Linked DNA regions of Homo sapiens: all the other regions are linked to region 3. Evidence: promoter capture Hi-C in human tissues and cell types (Jung and others, 2019). All regions are on one chromosome and are shown on one strand. Each heading gives the region's core, a stretch centred on a gene start or on the middle of the fragment in contact. The rest is flanking DNA. Distances are from core to core; before and after follow the strand shown. Region 1 holds the start of UBXN6 (UBX domain protein 6). Region 2 overlaps CHAF1A (chromatin assembly factor 1 subunit A). Region 3 holds the start of SHD (Src homology 2 domain containing transforming protein D).

What was found. The method cuts DNA at HindIII sites, captures the fragments that hold promoters and counts their contacts. A contact is called where the count stands out against the background at its distance.
Region 1: the fragment with the promoter of UBXN6 here is called in contact with the fragment with the promoter of SHD in region 3 in 2 of the 25 tissues and cell types used here (dorsolateral prefrontal cortex and lymphoblastoid cells).
Region 2: a fragment that was not itself captured here is called in contact with the fragment with the promoter of SHD in region 3 in 5 of the 25 tissues and cell types used here (bladder, dorsolateral prefrontal cortex, liver and 2 more).

The regions. Positions count from the first base shown.
Region 1 is chr19:4,456,296-4,460,398 of GRCh38, forward strand. UBXN6 (UBX domain protein 6) reads right to left here and starts at 1,499. Exons shown (of 11, transcript NM_025241.3): 1 at 1,320-1,499. The coding sequence starts at 1,402. RefSeq lists silencers at 1,301-1,370, 1,401-1,450 and an enhancer at 1,561-1,760. The HindIII fragment of the contact is 9,046 bases long and covers 1-4,103 here.
Region 2 is chr19:4,413,821-4,418,131 of GRCh38, forward strand. CHAF1A (chromatin assembly factor 1 subunit A) reads left to right here. Exons shown (of 15, transcript NM_005483.3): 4 at 4,200-4,256. Among named protein-coding and RNA genes, the nearest start is that of CHAF1A, 13 kb to the left of the region's middle. The HindIII fragment of the contact is 3,051 bases long and covers 856-3,906 here.
Region 3 is chr19:4,277,093-4,281,024 of GRCh38, forward strand. It overlaps SHD (Src homology 2 domain containing transforming protein D), which reads left to right and starts at 2,174. Exons shown (of 6, transcript NM_020209.4): 1 at 2,174-3,268. The coding sequence starts at 2,972. The HindIII fragment of the contact is 14,506 bases long and covers 1-3,932 here.

The sequences.
Region 1 (4,103 bases), core at 249-2,748, 180 kb after region 3:
TCACTCAGCCTTTGCTCTCCTGCTCTCCCCCAGGAACCCTGACGTCCTCACTATGCCCCTACCTCCATCACCACCCCACTGCCCCGTGATTCCTGACCCCCACTTCCTGCCACCTCCCTGCCTCTCCCAGCCCCCACTCCCTCACAATCCCTTCCACTATTGCTTACAGACCCGTGTCCTGGCTGCCTGGCTGACTTCCTCAGTCCCTCTCCATCAGTCCCCACCACCCTCTGGCCAGCCAGCTCCCTGCAGCGGCCCCAGCTCTCCAGTTTCCCTTTTCTCAACCCAACAGCCCTCAGCCTTGCACCTTCCCTAGCTCCACTTCTTCCCCGGCCCTCCCAGCTGGCTCAGCCCTGCTCAGGCCCTTCTCTCCAAGTCCTCCCTAGACAATCCGGAAGCCTGCCCGGCATCTATCTCCTTTCCCCTCCTCTCCCACTTCCATAATCCACTTGGCACAGTGACGTGGCAGAGAAGCCTCGCAGAGAAGCTCTTTCTCCCAGCCTGCTAAGACGCGTCTGTCTCACCCGTCTTCTCCTCTCAGGCCCCTCCCGGGTAAGAGTCCATCTGTCAGAATCCCTCACCTCCACTCTCCTCACACACCTTCCTCAGCCCCTCCCTCTCAATTCGCCAGGACATCCCAGGTCACTGACGACGCTGCCCACCCCGGCCTCCCTGGCCTTCCAGACTCTTTCTAGTCTCCCATCAGCCTCCCACGTGCTCCAGATACCAAATCCAGAACCCCTCTTCCCATGGATACCTCAAAACAACTCTTCACCACCCCACCCCACAGCTGTGCGTCCTCCTCCAAGCTCAGCTCCCATCCATGGTCACCTAGATTGCCCCAAATCATCCCGGCCTCTTCGGCCAGCCGGGTCCCCAGACAGAGCTCTCCCTCACCACCCGGCTCAGGACTCATGATCCCGTTTTTCCCCAAAGGTCGTTCCACTGACCCCCAACTGCCTACAGCCCCGTCGCCCTAATCCCCCGCCACTGCATCGGACCCTCCTGCGGCCCCGCCCCCGAGACCTCCCCTCCCGCCCCGCCCCCTGCGCTAGTTCCCCTCCCCTCGCCTCCCCCGCCGCGCCCCCGGGTCATACCCGCCCCCTCCTGCCCCGCCCCCAGATCTCTCTCCCCTCCCCCTGACGCCCACCCTCGGCCCGACTTCGTCCGCCCCCGGCGCCTCTCCCCCTCCCCTGACCCTCGCGTGCCGCTCCCAGCCCCTCATCCTCTCCGATCTCCCGAGCCGCCCAAGGCCCCAGATCTCTCTCCCCGGCCGTCCCCGCCCCGCAGGGCCTCAAGCCCCTGCGTTCCTCACGCACCCCACGGACTCTTTGAGCTTCTGACCGGGTCCCGCGCTCTTGAACTTGATGTCGGCCTTGAACTCCTGAAAGAATTTCTTCATGGTGGCGGCTGGCCCGGCGGCGGGGGGCCGCGGGGGCGGGGGGGCACGGGGCCCAGTCGGGGACGGGGCCGCCGGAGACCAGCCACCGGAAGAAAATTAAAAAAAAAAAAAAAAAAAAAAAAAAAATTTACCTCGCCGCCGGAAGTCCCGCCTTCCCCTGGCCTGCCACGTGACAATCGACTAGACGTGCCTCTCTAGCGCTCGGTGCCTTGCTGGCCCAGGGCGGCCGCTCTGTACGCTGGAGCCGCGTCTCTGTGGTTCTTCCGGACTCCGTTGCCAGGGCGACGAGTGCACCTCTCGATTGGAGACAGGGCATTCCGTGGCGCTCCCCAAACGGTGACAAACGGTGATAGGACAGGGACAGGCCAACTGAACCTCGCAGAGAAAGCACTGGGCCCTATCCCTTTCGCTGCTCAACCTAAACTAGGCGCGGTGGCTCACGCCTGCAATCACAGCACTTTGGAGGCTCAAGCGGAAGGATTGCTTGATCCCAGAAGTTGGAGACCAGCCTGGCAACATGGCAAAACCTCGTCTCTATAAAAAAAAAAAAAATAAAATAAAATAAATTAGCCGAGGGTGGTGGCGCGCGCCTCTCAGCTACTTGGGAGGCAGAGGCGGGAGGATCGCTTGAACCCAAGAGGTCGAGGCTGCAGTGAGCTGTGATCAAGCCACTGCATTCCAGCCTGGGCGACAGAGAGAGACCCTGTCTCAAGCAAAACAAAAAAAATTCCAACCTTCTCTGTCTCCCCAGAGCTTACGTGATAAAATCCCAATTCAATGTTGGGTATTGGAGGCCCCCACGATCTGGCCTGTTTTGGTGCCTGAAGCACCCCCCCGCCACCATCACCACGTACCCTAGGTAGGAGCTGTTTAAGAGGATGCACCTGGGCCGGGCGCGGTGGCTCATGCCTGTAATCCCAGCACTTTGGGAGGCCGAAGCGGGCGGATCACAAGGTCAGGAGATCGAGACCATCCTGGCTAACACGGTGATACCCCGTCTCTACTAAAAATACAAAAAATTAGCCGGGCATGGTGGCAGGCGTCTGTACTCACAGCTACTCGGGAGGCTGAGGCAGGAGAATGGCGTGAACCCGCGAGGCGGAGCTTGCAGTGAGCCGAGATCTCACCACTGCACTCCAGCCTGGGCGACAGAGCGAGACTCCGTCTCAAAAAAAAAAAAAAAAAAAAAAAAAGAGGATGCACCCAATGCACCCAATTGGGACCTGGGGATTGGGGATCCACTTTGGTGGACACCAGTTAATAGTGGCGTACTTTGGTCTGTGCAATCCACAAAGAAGATACACAAAGTGACAGTTAAAACAAGCCTCAAAAAATGGGAGTTGGGGGTCAGACGTGGTGGCTCATGCCTCTAATCCCAGCACTTTGGGAGGCCGAGGCCGGCGGATCACTTGAGGTCAGGAGTTTGAGACCAGCCTGGCCAACATGGTGAAAGCCTGTCTCTATGGGCACCGGTAATCCCAGCTACTCGGGAGGCTGAGGCAGGAGAATCGCTTGAACCCGGCAGGTGGAGGTTGCAGTGAGCCGAGATCTCGCCATTGCACTTCAGCCTGGGCAACAGAGGGAGACTCTGCCTCAAAAAAGAAGGAGTTGGAATGAGATACACAGAGACTGATGGAGGAGAAGCCTCCAGGTGAGGAAACAGCCCACCCCAAGACTGAAATTGAAATATCATGGGTTGGACGGGTGGCTCAGGCCTGCAGTCCCAACATTTTGGGAGGCCAAGGTGGGAGGATTGCTTTAGCCCAGGAATTGGAGGCTGCAGTAAGCTAGGATCACGCCACTGCACTCCAGCCTGGGCAACAGAGCCAGACCCTGTCTTATTAAAAAAAGAAAAAAAGGCCAGGCACGGTGGCTCATGCCTGTAATCCCAGCCCTTTGGAAGGCCGAGGCGGGTGGATCACGAGGTCAGGAGATTGAGACCATCCCGGCTAATACGGTGAAACCCTGTCTTTACTGAAAATAATTTTTAAAAAAATTAGCCAGCCTTGGTGGCGGGCGCCTGTAGTCCCAGCTACTTGGGAGGCTGAGGCAGGAGAATGGCGTGAACCCAGGAGGCAGAGCTTACAGTGAGCCGAGATCATGCCACTGTGCTCCAGCCTGGGCAACAGAGCAAGACTCCGTTTCAAAAAAAAAAAAAAAAGGAAAAGAATTGGGCCAGGTGCGGTGGCTCACACCTGTAATCCCAGCACTTTGGGAGGTCAAGGCGGGTGGATCACTTAAGGTCAGAAGTTCAAGACCGACCTGGCCAACATAGCAAAACCCCGTCTCTATTAAAAATACAAAAATCAGCCGGGTGTGGTGGTGTGTGCCAGTAATCCCAGCTACTTGAGAAGCTGAGGCAGCAGAATCACTTGAACGCAGGAGACAGAGGTTGCAGTGAGCTGAGATTGCACCACTGCACTCCAGCCTGGGCGACAGAGCGAGACTCTGTCTCAAAAATAAATAAATAAAGTAAAAAAATAAATAAATAAAAGAAGAATACAGTGCAACCCAAACTTCAATCTTTCTGATCTCCAGTCTCCTATCTATGAAATGGGGATAAGAATAACACTCTCTATAGATTGTAGGGGTGATCATGTGATTAGAAAGTTCTCAGTATGCCGGGCACGGTGGCTCATGCCTGTAATCCCAGCTACTCAGGAGGCTAAGGCAGGAGAATCACCTGAACTTGGGAAGCAGA
Region 2 (4,311 bases), core at 1,131-3,630, 140 kb after region 3:
ATGATTTAAAAAGATCCCCCTTTAGATACTCCCAGGGTCCTTTGAATAGCTGAAGTGTTCCTTTTTAGTATTAGAGTTTTCTACCATGTGGGAAAGAACCATTTCTGAAGTTTGCAATCAGACTTGTGATTTAGCCTCTTCTGTTAGTGATCGAGATGATTATTTGACAAATGATCATGTTGGTGCAGTTGTGTTACTGGAATCTTTGGCTTGCTTCTGTGCCCAGATTGCTGGAACTTCTTTCCATATACTTGAAATTACATTTGTAATAAATTCTCCATGTTTAAAAGAAATACTGGTCTAGGTGCAGTGGCTCAAGCCTGTAACCCCAGCACTTTGGGAAGCCGAGGTGGGAGGATTGCTTGAGCTTAGGAGTTCGAAACCAGCTTGACCAACATGGTGAAACTCCGTCTGTACAAAAAATACAAAAAATAGCGGGGCATGGGGGTGCACACCTGTAGTCCCAGCTCCTTGGGAGGCTGAGGTGGAAGGATCACTTGAGCCAAGGAGGCAGAGGTTGCGGTGAGTCATGATTGCACCACTGTGCTCCAGCCTGGGCAACAGCCAGACCGTCTCAAAAAAAAAAAAAAACAAAAAGGAAAAAGAATGGAAACCTTGAAGCCCTCTGTTCTCCCAGGAGGTTGCCATTATTATCATCATCATCACCTTGTGTTTTTCTGTGTCCTGTATATCCAGAGAGATCTCTAGGAAACACCCAGTATCATTTTGTTTCCTTGTGTATGACATATACTGTAAATATCTGTCTTTGTTACTCAAGGGTGTCTTAGATGTTTTTTATATTGGGATGGAAAGATGGAGCTCTTTTTAACAGCTGCGTGATATCCCATGGTGTGGACATGCTGTAGGTTACAGAGCTGTTTTCTCAGTTCTGCTGTTTCTGTGCTTGGCTTTCACAAAATGATTGTTCCCTTGAGCTTCCTTCTACAAGTGGCCTTGGGCTGTTAAGGAGAATGAGGTCTTGGTAGCTCAAGGCAATGCGTGCGTTCTTATTTTCCCAGCTTGCACTCTCTCATGCTTGGGCCAATTGGAGGTTTTCTCTTTTCCCCCCTGCCTCCGCTCCCCTGCTGTCAGGTTTTAGCGGCTTATCTGGTCTGGGCTTAGAAATTAGATACCCTTTAGTATAAAATCAGAGTCCATAGGCTCTGAGAGGATTATCTGAGAAAGGGTGCAGGAATTTTCATGCCCACACATAGTGAGCTCTGTCGCGACTCCTTGGGATTGTCGGTTTTTGTGTTTTGGCTTCCTTCTGGGATCCTGGATCACGTTTTTGGCAGTTGAGGGTGCTGTCTGACCGGGCTCCAGCTGGGTAGAATGTGGGAGTGTTGCATAGAATTTTGAGAGTGAGATCTATAAACACTTGGGTCAAATTTCAAGAAGATAAAGTTCTGTCAGACTTCAAGGTCCATCTGAGGGTTTGGCAAAGCAAAAAAGATACCAGTTTTAAATTAAGCAGTAATTGCTCTGTTTTGGTTGTTGGATATTACTGAGCGGGCTCTTGCCAGTCACATCAAGTCTGTTATCTCTGGACTCACAGCAGAGGGGGGGCATTGTAAGAGGCAGGAGATTCTGCAGCTGAGCTTCAGGCATGGGCAAGACTAAGGAACTGAATTCCCCGCCACCCCAAGACCACATTCCGTATTATAATCTCTGAACACAAAGGGCAGCCCCGGAGAGCTGCGGCTCCCATATTCTGCAGTTAAATCCCTCAGCGTGGGGGAGAGGCACACAGCCTTGGCAGGCAGAGTAGATGCTGGAGAGACAGATGCTTTTTCTGCAGCATTTGGTGAGGCTGCCTCGGGCTGGCATTTCTGTTGCCACATTCTCAGCAAAGACTGAACACCCTGGCCTGATCTCGGTGGTGAAAGAGCTCCTGCCAACACGGGCAGCCTTCTCACAACGGCTCGGCCTTTCCCTAAAGAAAGGTTTAGTCCAGAAAGGACTCAGTGGGACCCAGGTGGAAAGGCTGTCTTGAGCTCATTCATCTGAAGCTTTTATTCTGTGAGAGGTCCTAGTCAGGGGTTCAGCTTTCCCAGATAAAGAAATCACTGTTGGCCGGGCGCGGTGGCTCACGCCTTTAATCCCAGCACTTTGGGAGGCCGAGGCGGGCGGATCACGAGGTCAGGAGATCGAGACCATCCTGGCTAACATGGTGAAACCCCATCTCTACTAAAAATACAAAAAAATTACCCAGGCATGGTGGTGGGCACCTATAGTCCCAGCTACTGGGCAGACTGAGGCAGGAGAATCGCTTGAACCCGGGAGGCGGAGCTTGCAGTGATCCGAGATGGCGCCACTGCACTCCAGCCTGGGCGACAGAGCGAGACTCCGTCTCAAAAAAAAAAAGAAATCACTTACATAATTTTGTTGACCCCTCAGACCATTGCCAGGAAAATGGGCCTTTGGTTTTTCAGTCAACTTCAGTCTTACACTGCAAGTCTGCAATGAACCCGGAGAACTATTTCTTCCCACTCTTAAGCGTCTCTTCCCATTGCTCTTCACTTCTACTAGTTTGGTTTTCAGGATTCCCTGCCCCGGTGGGAGATAGCTTAGGCCAAAGTCCAGACTCCCTGTTCGTCTTCCTTCCTGGGACCATTTAGGTGGATGGTGAGTCACACCATGGATCCTATTGGTAATTCCTAGTAGCTCATGCTCAGTTTGAAGGTAGGTGATAGAAAATATTGTGCCCTAGAAGGTAGAAGTCCTAGAAAACCCCAGCAAGTTTCCCTTTTGTCTTAAGCTTTCACTCCACATTCTAAAAAGCAGAGTTGGCTGGGCGCGGTGGCTCACGCCTGAATTCCTAGCACTTTGGGAGGCGAGGCGGGTGGATCACCTGAGGTCAGGAGTTCGAGACCAGCCTGGCCAACATGATGAAACCCCTATCTCCACTAAAAATACAAAAATTAGCCAGGTGTGGTGGCACACGCCTATAATCCCAGCTACTCAAGAAGCTGAGGCAGGAGAATCGCTTGAACTTGGGAGGTAGAGGTTGCAGTGAGCCGAGATCGTGGCACTCGCTGCACTCCAGCCTCTGTGACAGGAGTAAGACTCCATCTCAAAAATAACATTAAAATAAAAAGCAGAGTTGAGCTAGACAGAATGTAAATTAGTGGTGCACAGGAAACCAGCCTGGAGACATGTTTTATTTGATTAATTTAGTATCTTTTTATTTTTTTTTTAGACAGTCTCACTCTGTCACCCAGGTTGGACAGCTCAGTGCAGCCTCAACCTCCCGGGCTCCTCCCACCCCAGACTCCTGGGTAGCTAGGACTACAGATGTGCACCACAACACCCGACTAACTAAAAGCTTTTTTTAGAGACAGGGTCTTGCTTTATTGCCCAGGCTGGTCTTGAACTCCTGGGCTCAAGTGATCCTCCCGCCTTGACCTCCCAAAGTGCTGGGATTACAGGCATGAGCCACTGTGCCCGTCTGTGTCCATTTTTAAACACCTAAAAAAATTCATATGAAATTCCTAATATCAGCTTCTCTTGGAGAAATTGGAAGGACCAGCAAATAGGGATCTATATTCCTGTAAGAACTCCATCTCCTTTGGACAGGCAGGTCCTCTCTCCTTTGCTACAAATCCATCCTCTCCCTGTCGCCCAGGCCAGCTGTCGCTTTTTTTTTTTTTTTTTTTTTAAGACAGAGTCTCACCCTGTTGCCCAGGCAGGAGTATGGTGGCGCAATCTCGGCTCACTGCAACCTCCTTCTCCTGGGTTCAAGCGATTCTTCTGCCTCAGCCTCCTGAGTAGGTGGGATTACAGGCACCTGCCACCACGCTCGGCTAATTTTTGTATTTTTAGTAGAGATGGGGTTTTGCCACGTTGGCCAGGCTGGTCTCGAACTCCTGACCTCAGGTGATCTGTCTGCCTCGGCCTCCCAAAGTGCTGGAATTACAGGCGTTAGCCACCGCGCCCAGCCTTGTCTGTTGCCTTTATTTCTGAGCTTGCCTTGTTTTTCTTGTGCTTGGTGTCCTTCACTCATTTCTTTATCTGCCTCCGTAGTCTCTCTTGTTATCTAATCCCAGATACACACATGTATGCACACTTACTGGAGTTTGTGACCCTATTATGACATTTTGGTTCTGTTGGTGGAAAAACTGATCACCTGGAAAGGTTTCTCTTTTTCTCGAAGCAATTGAAATAACCCGTGTTTAAAGATAAACGTCTTCTGTTTTCAGATAACTAAGAAATTCGTCAAAGGCTCTACAGAGAAGAACAAGCTCAGACTGCAAAGAGTAAGACATTTTCCCTGAAATAGAAAATTAACCTGCTGTGCTTTTTGCATTAAAT
Region 3 (3,932 bases), core at 924-3,423:
CCTGGATCTCTTTCTCTTCTACCTAATCCTCCTGCCTCTCCCTGCCAGCCTCTCCCCACTCCCCTCCTTGGGGTAGGGTCGGGGTGCAGCCCCAGGAGAAGCCAGCTCCAAAGCACAGGAAAGTCAAATGCCGTTTGATTCCGGCCCCGGGGCCTCTAATTGCTATTCCTGACACAGATTGTAATTAGAAGGCCCCTTTCAAATATTTATACCTCAGACATCTAGTTTTATCCGGCAGGGAGACGACTTGGATTTGATGAGATCTGTCAACAGCTCATCCCCGTGGCCCGGAATTGCCTTGCGGCTGACAGAAAGCAGGACAATTACCCGCTGTGCTCCCTGGCCGCCCCCAGGGACGCAGCCTTGTCGCTGATCTGAAAGGGTGGGGGGAAGCGGGGGTGGCCATGCACTTCAGGAGGGAGGAAGGAGTTCAACAGGTCTGTGTTGGGGGACACAGCCAGTGCAGGGAAGGGGAGGAACAGAAGGGTCTAGACGCCTGCATCCTTCAGGGGCTTTGCCTTGTTGGCTCCAGGCCTCAGTTTTCCCATCTGGATAATGGAGCTCATCGTGGAGAGGAGTTGCAGAACCGATTCCATGAAGAGCATTTTGGGAGGCCGAGGCCGGCAGATCACCTGAGGTCAGGAGTTCCAGACCAGCCTGGCCAATGTGGTGAAACCCCATCTCTACTAAAAATATAAAATTATATAAAAATTAGCTGGGCGTGGTGGCAGTAATCCCAGCTACTCAGGAGGCTGAGGCAGGAGAATTGGTTGGACCTGGGAGGTGGAGGTTTCAGTGAGCTGAGATCGCAACACGGCACTCCAGCCTGGAGGACAGAGCAAGGCTCCGTCTCAAAAAAATAAAAAGAGAGACTCCAGTGCCACCCTAGGCCAGGCCCCACGGCGATGTGCAGGCAGAATCAGCTGTGGAGTGGCTCTGAACAAGTCCCTCCCATCTCTGTGCCTCGGTTTCCCCATCCATAAAATGAGGAAGCCAGGTGATAGCTCGGTCCCTCCTGGAATCCTTCCTAGAGCTGTCTGGGATTTCCTGTTAGAAACCACATCTTTCAAATAAGGAAAACCAAGACTCAGGGAGTGACAGACCCTGCCCTCAGCCCCGCCGGGCTGCCAGGAGGCCCCAGTCATAGCAGTGTTGGTTCTGACTTCTGTCTTGTCCTCCAACTGTGCTCTCCAAGCTATGACCTGTGCCTGACCAGGGGGCTGGCCACAAGAGGAGAGAATCTGGGGTCCCATCCTTCCTGACCACCCCTCTCTCACTCCCCTCATTAGGAGGAACTGGGCAAGCCCCCTTATGGGGAAAGAAAAAAAACGGTTCTGCACTGGAAAATTGGCCAGTGGCTCCCTTTTCCTCTCCCACCCCCCAAACCTCTCAGTGCCCTCACCCTCAGACAACGACAGCTGACAACAGGCAGCCAGTTCAGGCCAGACCCCTCTCACTTCTGCCCCTCTTCCCGCCACCGCTCCCCCCCACCCCGCCCCCAGAAGCCACAAAAGGACAGATGCAGAGGACAGGCGCCAGGCACAGATACCATCTCCCTTCCCCAAGCCAGCTGCCCCCAACCCTCCCCCTGCCCGCAATTAGTCCTCTGGGGCGGGAGCGGGGCACAGAGCAGAGCCCTCTTGGGGGAGGGGAAGCCCGATCCGCACCCACCCTTCCTTTGCCCCCCTCTTCCTTCTGCTGCTCCAATATCAATTTCAGCCAGTGACCTCTCCACCAATTTGCACATCCCCACTCTCCCGGTCCGTTTCACCGCCAGACATCGGTTCCATTTCGACCCTCACTGGCGGTCATTCCCACCCCCTCTGCTGGTCAATTTCACCCCTTTTGGCGGTCAAGTGCAGTCCCCCATTTCCCGGGCAATTTCCCCCTCCCCTCCTTCTCCCTCTCCCCTCCCCTCCCCAGCAGTGTCACTCCCAGCTGCTCCCCACCTCCCGCGCTCCGCGCTCGCTGCGGCCAGTCTCGGGCGTCCCGGTCAGTGTCCAGCTGCCGCGGCCTCGGCCCCGGCGACTCCCGCCCCCAGCCCCCCTTCCCTCCGCGGGCAGCGGCTCCCTCCCTCCCCAGAACAGCTGAAGGTCTCAGTCACCTCCGAGGGGAGCGCAGGGGGAGGGGAGGGGCGGGGGACGCGGCGGAGGGGAGGTGGGGGAGCCTTGACGCTGCTGCCCGGGACGCGGCCCGGGGCTGGTGGGAACAGGGGCGTCCTCCTGCGCGCCCCCCTCCCCAGCGTCCCACCTCCCGGCGGCGGCGGGGAAAGTCTCTCCGAAAGCGTGAAGGGGGATTGGAGGAGGTTTTTATTTCCCTTTGTGCGGGTGGCTGGGGCCGGATCGAGGCGGCGGGGGCCGCGGGACTGGGGGCTCCCCGCTGAGCCGAGAGGAGCGCGACAAAGGATGCGTCCCGCCGGGGTCACAGTCTCCGCGGCCCAACTTTGCGCGCGGCGCCCGCGCCCCTGGGGAGCCCGCCCGCTGCGCTGAGAACCCAGGCGTCCGGGCTGGGAGAGGGGCCGGGAGCGTCCGCAGGTGGCGCTGGCCCGGATCTCCCGACCCCAGGAAGGGATCCCGGAGCTTCCTGGAGGCGGCGGGCGGCCGTGTCGCTCCAGGGAACCGCGCTGCCCGCGGAAACTCCGCGCGCCTCCGCGGATGCCCCTCGCCCTAGCCCCCAGCGCGCGGGGTTCGGGGCCCTGCGAGGTCCCCCCTTCCCCCGCGGTGCTTCCCAAGCTGGGCTAAGGCGGGCTTCTCTTCCTCCCTCCTCTGTCGCCTCCTTTTCCTCCCCCTCGTTCACCTTTTCCTTCCCTCTATCCATCCAGAGCCCCGCCAAAGGGCGCACCTGATCTTTCTCATCCTTCCCTGCTCTTCCCTTCCTCTCCACCTCCTCCTCCTCCTTGGGGAAAGGGGCCCGGAGAAGGGCATGTGGGGGCCCCTCTGACAGTGGCCCGATTGGGGTGACAGGCGCCCAAATGGCCAAGTGGCTACGGGACTACCTGAGCTTTGGGGGTCGGAGGCCCCCTCCGCAGCCGCCCACCCCGGACTACACCGAGAGCGACATCCTGAGGGCCTACCGCGCGCAGAAGAACCTGGACTTCGAGGACCCCTATGAGGACGCGGAGAGCCGCTTGGAGCCGGACCCCGCGGGCCCTGGGGACTCCAAGAACCCCGGAGATGCCAAGTATGGTTCTCCCAAGCACCGGCTCATCAAGGTGGAGGCTGCGGATATGGCCAGAGCCAAGGCCCTTCTGGGCGGCCCCGGGGAGGAGGTGCGTGGCTGGGTGGCCTGGGGAGACTGGGTGGAGGGGAGGCTCAGGATGGGCTCTCTGGATCGTGGAGAGCTTATTTTATGTGTGATCACAGGAGGGGACTGGGGCACCAGACAGACCCTTCCCAGTCCTCCAGACCTCCACCTGCTTGGGGAAGTCTGTTCTTTTTATGTATTTATTTATTTTGAGACAGTCTCCCCCTGTCACCCAGGCTGGAGTGCAGTGGTGGGATCTCGGCTCATTGCAACCTCCACCTCCTGGGGTTCAAGCGATTCTCCTGCCTCAGCCTCTCCAGTAGCTGAGATTACAGGTGTGTGCCACCACACCCGGCTAATTTTTGTATTTTCAGTAGAGACTGGTTTCACCATGTTAGCCAGGCTGGACTCAAACTCCTGACCTCAGGTGATCCTCCCGCCTCTGCCTCCCGAAGTGCTGGGATTACAGGTGTGAGTCACTGCGCCCGGTGGATATCTGTCCCTTTTCAATGCATAATGCTGGTTGTCCTTCTGCCTCTCTGACCACCCTGCTTGGTCTCCGGGTCCTCCTCCTCCTCCATGGTCATCCCCTGCAGTCCCCCAGCCCCCTCCCCTCAGCACCCCTTCCTCTTGGAACCTGGTGGGATCTTCCTAAAATAGATCTGAGTGAGTTGCTCCCCTGCTGGGCA